2 separate regions of the Homo sapiens genome follow, and region 1 is linked to region 2. The links are contacts of gene promoters, found by promoter capture Hi-C in human tissues and cell types (Jung and others, 2019). All regions are on one chromosome and are shown on one strand. Each heading gives the region's core, a stretch centred on a gene start or on the middle of the fragment in contact. The rest is flanking DNA. Distances are from core to core; before and after follow the strand shown. Region 1 has its middle 46 kb from the start of LINC02230. Region 2 holds the start of TMEM171 (transmembrane protein 171).

Evidence for each region. The method cuts DNA at HindIII sites, captures the fragments that hold promoters and counts their contacts. A contact is called where the count stands out against the background at its distance.
Region 1: a fragment that was not itself captured here is called in contact with the fragment with the promoter of TMEM171 in region 2 in 1 of the 25 tissues and cell types used here (aorta).

The regions. Positions count from the first base shown.
Region 1 is chr5:73,381,870-73,386,089 of GRCh38, reverse strand. No RefSeq gene overlaps it. Among named protein-coding and RNA genes, the nearest start is that of LINC02230, 46 kb to the right of the region's middle. The HindIII fragment of the contact is 7,475 bases long and covers 1-4,220 here.
Region 2 is chr5:73,117,855-73,122,171 of GRCh38, reverse strand. TMEM171 (transmembrane protein 171) reads right to left here and starts at 1,597. Exons shown (of 4, transcript NM_173490.8): 1 at 1,476-1,597. LOC124901001 reads left to right here and starts at 1,681. Exons shown (of 2, transcript XM_047417978.1): 1 at 1,681-4,317. The coding sequence starts at 1,743. The coding sequence ends at 2,444. RefSeq lists an enhancer at 2,207-2,758. The HindIII fragment of the contact is 7,583 bases long and covers 1-4,317 here.

The DNA of each region.
Region 1 (4,220 bases), core at 32-2,531, 260 kb before region 2:
AAATAATAGGAAAAGAGAATCATTGGGGCCAGTCCTGAAAGTTGGTTATCACAGAATTGAACTATGCTGACAAATGATGAAGTGAATTAAAAGTAGTTATTAAGTGCATGTTTGAGCTCAGCATATTTTGTTTCCAAACATTTTCCCAAATCCATGGACACAGGTGCCTATCATATGTCTGAGTATTATCTGACAAGCCCTGAGTGTGGAATCAAAGTTAAATACTAGGTCACTGGAGTCAGGACTGGATATAAATCTGGCTCATTTGCCTACTTGTTTGAGCCTATATTTCCTCGTTTGCAAACTGGATTAATATACTTATTTCACAGGCTTATTATAGCCATTAATCAAAAGATCATAGAACAGTATCTAAGTATTCAATCAATGGTAGGTATTTTCATTAATTATTATTGTTCTTATTATACAATTTAGCTTGAAAGATTACCATAAGTGCAGAGAGTTTGCATTCTGGCACTCACATAACAAGAAGCCTGAATGTTGCCCAGTTTCAGGTATAATTAATGCTGTGGTTCAGTGACATCATCAAATACCCAGATTCTTTCCATCTTTCTTCTCTGTCATCCTTGGCATTTGGATTCTTCCCTTGGAGTCATAAGATAAATACAGCAACTTGGAGCATCATGTCCTCACACAATTACATCCAAAGGCTGAAAAAGTAAGGCCCTTCCTTTTATGCATTTTAACGTGAAAAAAATATTTCCATACCTCTAGAAGACTATTCCTCAGGTTTAATTGATCTTAATTGTATTGCATGTTCATTTCTAAGCCAATCATTTGCAGGGGATAAGGAATGATCAGTTTTTAGCTTAGATTAATCAAAGCTATTCCTTCAGGCTGGGGAGAGGCTTGGCTTTCTGGAAGCATGTTGCTGTGTGATGCCTGAAAAAAATTAATATGTAAGAATGACAAGAATGGCTGTTGGGTGAGCCACCAGCCTCTATTACAGGGTCCATGAGAGATACAACTGTGAAAAGTTTGCTTTCTGAAAATGCCTTTATTCTATCTGTACACTTGGTGGGTAGTTTAGCTGGATATAGAATTCTGGACTGGAAATGATTTTTCCTTAGAATTGTAAACATTGCTCTCTTTCCTTTTCACTTTCGGTGTTATTTTTGAGAAGTCCAATGCCTTTTTGATTCCTGATTTTGGTAAAGGACCTGTTTTTCTTTCTAGAAGTGTTTTGAAGTTTCTATTTATTCATGAGTTTCTGAAATTTTATGATTATGTGCTTTGGTCTAAAAATTTTTCCTTCTTTGTATTGGGCACCCAATTGGTCCTTCCAGTCTGGGAAGTCATCCCAATTAATTCTGGGAAATGTTCTTGTACCATATTATTAAATAATTTTACCTCTCTATTATCTCTGTACTTTCTTTCAGAAATTCAACTTGAATGTTAGGCCTCCTGTATTGATCTAGTTTCCTTATCTTTTTGTTTCTATTTTTTTCCATCTTTTGGTCCTTTTATTCTTTTTTTGAAATATTTCTGTAACTTCATCTGGACTTCAACTTTTACTGAATTTATTTCTACCACATTTTTAATTTCCAAAATTTATTCCTTATTCTCTTAATGTTTCTTTTTTAGAGCATCCTTTTCTTATTTCACGGATACAATCAATAGTTTTTCTCATCTCCTCAAAGATTTTACTTACAGGATTTGTTTGTTTTATGTGTGTTTTTAAAAATTTTCTCTACTTCCTCTTGGTTACTTATTTTTCCATTTTGGTCTTCATCTTTTGTTAAAGAGTTTCCTTAAAATATCTGATGATTTTTCTTCACTTTCTCATATTTTAGTGAAGAGAGCACTTTCCCCCACCTTACTGCCTACTAATAAGGTAAGTTGTAATATTAGAACAGGAAGGAATGCCTATCTTCACTTTACAGATGAGAAACTGAGGCATATGGTATTATATAATCTAGCTAATAAAATGCAGCCAGAGTGTGATGAATGTGAGCTCCAAGTACAATACTGACTCAGTAGGTAAAACTTATCCTTGGCATTGGCCCTCCTCTCTTGTCTTTTTCTCTCTCTCTCCCTCAGTTTGGTTTCAGAAGAAAAATCTATTGACATTTAAAATGAAGCAGGAATTAATGGCAAGGGAAGAGCTGGTACCTCCCCCTAACGTCACTCTAGTTTTCAGCATTTTAGCGGGGACTGTGTTTACTCAAATTAGCTGTGGAATCAACATAGATAACATTTCTTGATCTGGTATTGTGGTGTGAGGCAACACAGACAATTAATATTGGCCACTGTCCCCAGAGGTTTTACATTTTAGAGGAGATGGACTATTTATCTAAAAAGATAATTACATTATAATTTAGTTGCCCTGCACTCCTTGAGATAGCTTAACACCTTAAAGGTAATGACTGCTTGGCATCATAAGCCAACTTCACCCTGTAAGAACACTGAGATTTCAGAGAAGCCAACTTCACCTTCTAAGAACATCGAGATTTCAGAGGAAGATGTGGGCTCAGAGAGGGCAGCCAGGTCTGCAAGAGTTGGAAGTGCCCACAGGACAGTGGGAGGGCCTCTGTGGAGTCCAGGCAAGGGAAATTGATGAGCAAATGTGAGGGGTTATAATAGGTGACTCAGTGCTCTCCTTGCTTAGATCCCCAGAAGAACAGGGGTCAATACCCAAGCCCTCCGCGTCTGAAAGGCAGCAGTCCTTGGAGTAAGTGTGGGGGGCATGCAGGAGTGACACATGATTCAGACTCAACAGTCACACCAGTGTCTTCTAGTTCTTACTTAACCTTCTTGGTTCTCAACAGCAAACCAAGCTGCAGGGAGAGGGCTTTTTCAAGAGCATTGCTCTTCCGACCTTTTGAGTGTTTTTAGATGAAAAGACATTCTTTTAATATACTTGAAAAATCTGGAAGGAATAATATAAATCAATGCCTTAAGCTTTATCAGCTTCAAGTTTAGTCATTTTTCTTGAACTGAATTCCCCACAGCATTTAAAGAGCAGTAAGAAAGCAGAGCCGTCAGCCCCAGGAGCCAGTCTGGGAAGCTTTGTGATAAACTCGCGGGTCGACTTTTATTCAAAACACACACCAAATCCTATTTCAAGTAATCTTTGGCTTCCAACTTGGCACCCAGCAGCTGATTGAAAATGTCTCCTGGGTGTTGACCTTCCAGACAGACCCTTGCCCTGGAAGGAGCCAACCACCATTCTCTGTCCCCACCTTGGTACACACTCACTGGGAGGCTCCTGGATTCTTTGTGGTCAAGAAGCAGGGATTCCCAGGAACACGAACTTGAGCCCCCAAAGCCAGGAAGCCCAGGGCAAAGTAGGGCGCTGCAAGGACACAGAAGGGTCGCCAAGCCCGCAACCCAACGACCCATGTCAAGCACGCCTCGCCCGCTGCTGCTGGATGTTAAATGTGGGGTTTGTGTTGTTTTAATAAAGCAGGACAGACACATTTCTCACATACCAGGTTTCGCTACACCAGGCCTGTTCCCTCTGGAGGCAGCTAAAGTCGAAGCCGAGGGCGGAACCGCGCGGGCCGCGACTCCCGGTCTCCTGGGCTGCGCCCGGCCTTTGCGGCGGCCAGGGACGCGGGCAGCCTCTGCAGTTGTGCGGGAGCCTCTGGAGCGGCCCCGAGCTCATTTTCCACTCGGCTGCTTCCCGGCCGAGCTGTAAACCCAACCTGACGTGGGCTCATTAATTTGGCAGCGACTGGAAGACTGGGCCATGGCGGCGCACCCGGGAGGCCTTTGTGCGCCCGGGGTCAGGTCAGAGGGCAACTGAAACACGGCTGAACCCTGCACGCGGCTCCCAAGCGCGGACAGCGCGGCCGGAGCCGCTTCCTCCGGCCGGACGGCCCCGGTACCCAGCCTCCCTCCCCGCGGCCCCGCCAGCGCGGCTTCCGGCGTCCGGGAGCGCGGTGACCCGGACCCTTCGCAGCCACCGACCGCAGTTCTGCAGTGGGCTTGCTCCGCCCTGTCCTTTCTCCTCTGCCCGCGCCCTGGCACGAGCAGGGACAGTTTCAGGCGAGCTGGGCCGATGACCTCCGAGGCCTCCTGCCTTCGAGATTCAGTCGCTGGGGTTCAGCCCTGCCCTGCCCTGCCCACGCCTCCCAGCAGGCCCGGGGTCTCGCACCAGCCGGGAGGCACCTGGCTGGCCCGGAGCTCAGTGCCTGCCTCGGGCTCGGAGGAGAGGCCCGGGTGCGGCGTGCGGCCTCCCCGCCCGAATGCGCTCTGAG
Region 2 (4,317 bases), core at 348-2,847:
AGCACAAAATGGGTGGAAGGGGGGAACTTGGCTTTGAAAGAATAGTATAAGTGGAATCAAGTGAGAAAGCACCTTCCAGAAAATCACCCAAGCCCTGTACTTCAGGGGTATAATATATTAAATATGCCAAGTGGTTGTTAAAGAGTTGTCTAGCTTACACAGAGCTGACCTAATTATCTCGTTATCTTATTTTACTCCAATGAATGGGATATTTTACCAGGACCCCGTAAGTCAGGTCCTGCAATTGCAAAGACAATCCAAAATCGTGAAGACTATTTTCACCTGCCCAAGGAAAGAAAACTTTTAAAATATTTTGTGCCGCTCACATCCATGGTCCCATGAAGGAACTCAAGACTGAGGCCCTAAGCCCAAGATGATCTTGACAAACCAAAATCACACTGAGGGAAGGTCAGTTTAGGTAAAGAAAGCAAACAGGCAATCTTACACTGGGAAAAACTTTTCCAGGAAAAAGTATGATAGAATCAGAAGGAAGTTGGAGAAAAAAAGGAAATATAGGAGGGAAAAAAGCTTTCATTTCAAACTTGGAAAAACTTGATATACAGATGCAGTTAAGCTGAGACAAAGCATTGCACTAATTTTTTAATCTTCCCATTTTTTATTAAGTCAGTAACATCCTGCAGTGAATAAGAATTTCATATTGAGTATACAGTAGTCCTCATTTATCCTACAGGGAGTACATTCCAAAACTCTCAGTGGAATGAAACGATGGAGAGTCCTGAAACCTATATATATTGGTTTTTTGTTATTGTTGTTGTTTTAATTTTTTTCCTGAATCATGCAATCTCTTTTGCGGTTTCGGAGACAAGAAAGAGAAGGGTGATTCTCGGCTGCAAAGTCCTATCAGGAATTCATTTATTCCCAGTATAGTCAACTTTGCAGTGAGTCACAAGGCTTCAACTGTCTTAAGGCAAATTCCCAAACACCAGTAAATAGAAGCCCAAAACTGAATCTGTAGTTTCTTGTCCGTGGACTAGTGGACGGAGCACCTGGCTGAGTGTTCACCTCTGATCCATAATAGTGTGGAAATACTCTCTCTCTCTCCTTCTCCCACAGATGCACTCACAAACGGATACAAAGACACCCACATTCACTCGCAATGAAACCTTTTCCAAACACCACCCTACACTTAAACTCCCCAAAGCCAAACTCCCCTCTCCAACACTCCTATTGGTTTTCCAAAAGACATTTCCAAAATTCACAGCACCTCTCCACGTCCAAAGCTATGGTGCGTTTGGGGAACGAAACGAGAGGCAAATGCCTTCTGTGCGAAATCGGTTTGCGGCTTTTAGGGAGCCCGAGCGCAAGCAACAGCCGGAGGGGCTCGCAGGGACGCAGGTTGGGCTCGGATACCCAGCGCCTCCGCGCTGCCGCGGCTCCCCGCGCCCAGCCTGGCCGCACAGCTCAGCGCCCGACCCGCCGCCGCCGGCGCAGGCGCGCGGGCCGGGGCAGCTTACCTGAAGCTGGGTCCGGCGCCTGGCTGACCGCGCTGCTGTGGGCACTGGCTGGGCGCGGCGTCCGCCTCCGCACGCGGCCTCGGCTGCGCCGGCCGCCCTGCACCCTACCCACCGCGCGTCCTGGTGCGGAGGGCGGACCCGGCAGTATTTAGAGAAGGAGGCGGTGCTGCGCGGGCGCGGCGGCCCGGGGAGGGCAGGGCAGGGCAGTGCAGGAGCGACCGGTGGGAGCTGGCCGCCACTGGGGGCCCGGGGCGCGCCCGCGAGGGAATGGAGAGCCAGGGGCGGCTTCGGAACCCAGGGCTGGCGGGTTTGGCAGCCTCCGCGCTCGTGGCCGTGCGCGCGAGGAATCTGGGAGAAATGGGCACCTTCCACGGCTGCCTGGCCCGCACACCTGGCGGGGCCGGCGAGTTGAGATGCCCCCGCCGGCTGGCGGAACTGTGCGCCCCGCCCGCCGAGGCCCGCTCCCCCTCGAGGCCTGAGGCCCAGTTCTATAGGGGCGCGAGAGAGCGGCGGCGTGGGGGGCGCGGAGGAAGCGCCGGCCCCCGCCTCCACCGCCTCCTTCGTGGTTGCGGCCCAGGCCGAACAGGGTACCGTGCCCCGGCCGCCTTGGCCTTGGCCACCGCGAGGTCCGGGGCGACTACACCCAGCAGCCCTGTGGCCCTCCTACTGCTCTGGAGACCTGGAGTGGGGTTACAGAGGGAAGCGACTCGCTGCGAGCTCCCCATCGAATATGGAGCCACCAGGTCACGGGACGACGTGCGCTCTACAGAATGTGAGACAAGGGCCCTCCACACCCAGCCATTCAGGCCTGAGGTCCTGGCTCCGAGACTGAGGCCGAGACGCGGCAAGCCCCGCGCCGGACCAGCTCTGCCCCTCCCGCACCCACGTGTCTGCGCACAGCCCTCCTTTGCGATAGAACCCCCTTCCTGGTTCTCCACCACTAATGATCTGCCGGAATTAAACTGGTAACTTTCCCTGCCCTTGAACCGGGAGTTTCGGGATGAGTTTGCCAATCCCTGTGCTATTTGTAACCAGCCCCGTGACACGTGATACGGATCCAACTGTGCTAGTTTCCACACCAGGGGTCAGGGCACGGTGGAAGGTGAGTCAAGGGTTCTCTGCCCAAGCGCAGAGGTGCCCTGAGCCACGGGGACTTCCCAGCCCTGCCTTCTCTTCTCAGCTTCCTGTCTGCCTTGCCTGAAACCCTATCTAGAGTTAAGGCCAATGGATGAAACTTTTCAATGTGCAAGCAAGCACTTTACCTACCTGATACAACAAGAGATTCCTGGTCATGCTCACTGAAGGTAAAGTATGAAGCAGGCTTAGCTAATCATCAGAGGTGAGAAGAGACTTAAAGAACCAGTCAGAGAGGTAAAGAGGGGAGGGGGTTACCTGGGCTTTAGGGTTCACCAGGGAGGCAGAACGGACAAGTTCTTGCCATTGGAATTTGGTGGGGCACTTGCCTGGGTGGCCAAAGGTGGACTTTTTCATAGCCAGGGTGCCCGACCTCTGTAAATCCCCGCCATAACTAACAGCCCTGATTACTGTCGAAATGAACAATGCCAACACTCACGACCCCTTGCTTTGTGGTTCTTTGCTACATCTCTCCAGCAGTTCAGAAAAGGTTGGAGGCAGCAGGGGACAGGAGACTGAGAAAAACAGTCATTTGTCAGTTGAGGAAACTGAGGTCCAGGCTGACAGAGGTAAAGTAACCTCTGCAGCTGGTTGACATGCAGAGAAGGCCTGAGCCAGATGCAGATGCGCTGACCATTCAGTGTTTCTCCCGCAGCACACCTGTCACTCAGAGAACACACCATGCTGTGAACCCAGAAAACGCCCTCATGGCCTTGTGATGCCAAGCACGTTTAGATTATTATAACAATACAGGCACTGTGTCCCAAGGACATTGCAGTAATCTATGTTTGGGGTGGAGATATCCTTCCTGGTCCAAGTGTCAAGGTATACCACCTTCTGGAAGGGCACCAAAGCATGTCCAGCGAATGGGCAGATACCCAAGAGTGGATTGTACAACAGCAGGCACTGGCTTTCTAAGAACTCAGGCCCTCATTATAGGATTTGTCCCCTCTGACACAGGCCTGTGAACAACTCTTCATTGTGCAAAAGGGTTTCCTTGTCCTTTCCCTACTCATTCTTCCCTTCCCCCTTATTTGAAACTGAATCTCTGGCCATGTCATGTGCAGGCCTGCAAGGGGCCTGTTGATACAGCTGCCCCTCTGGTGCCACATGACTGCAGGCTCACCACCCATGACAGACTTGAATATCCTGGCACCAAGGACAATCAGATTAGCCTCCACTTGGTATATCTGCTGTTCTCACTGTTTGTGTCTATGAGAGCCTGTTTGACTAAATTAAACTCCTTGGAAATTGATCATCGATTATGTATGAAAGACATACCCACCAGCCTTTGAGGTACTTATCTTTGTAGCCCACCTAGCCTTAGGAGAGAAGCTGCGTGGCCTGGTCACTATCTAGTGGTCTTCCCTGGCCTGTGTGGTAGTGAAAAAGATAAAAGCCAGACCGAATCCTTAGAAAAACAGCATCAGAACAAGATTAAAAACCTCGAATTCAGTGACTGTAGAAGCATAAAGCAGAGGCATGTGTTCATGTATTTAGCCAGCACAGATTTACCAACTACCAATAAAACACGGAACTTGTATTTTATTGAGGAGAAAGGCAATAAAATATGTAAGTTATACAGAGAATTAGAAAGTGATTGAGTGCCAGGGAGAACAATAAATCACAGATGGGGACTGGGGAGCACCCCATTTTAAATAGGGGAGTTAAGGAAGGCATCTCTGAGAAGGTGAGATTGCAGCAAAAA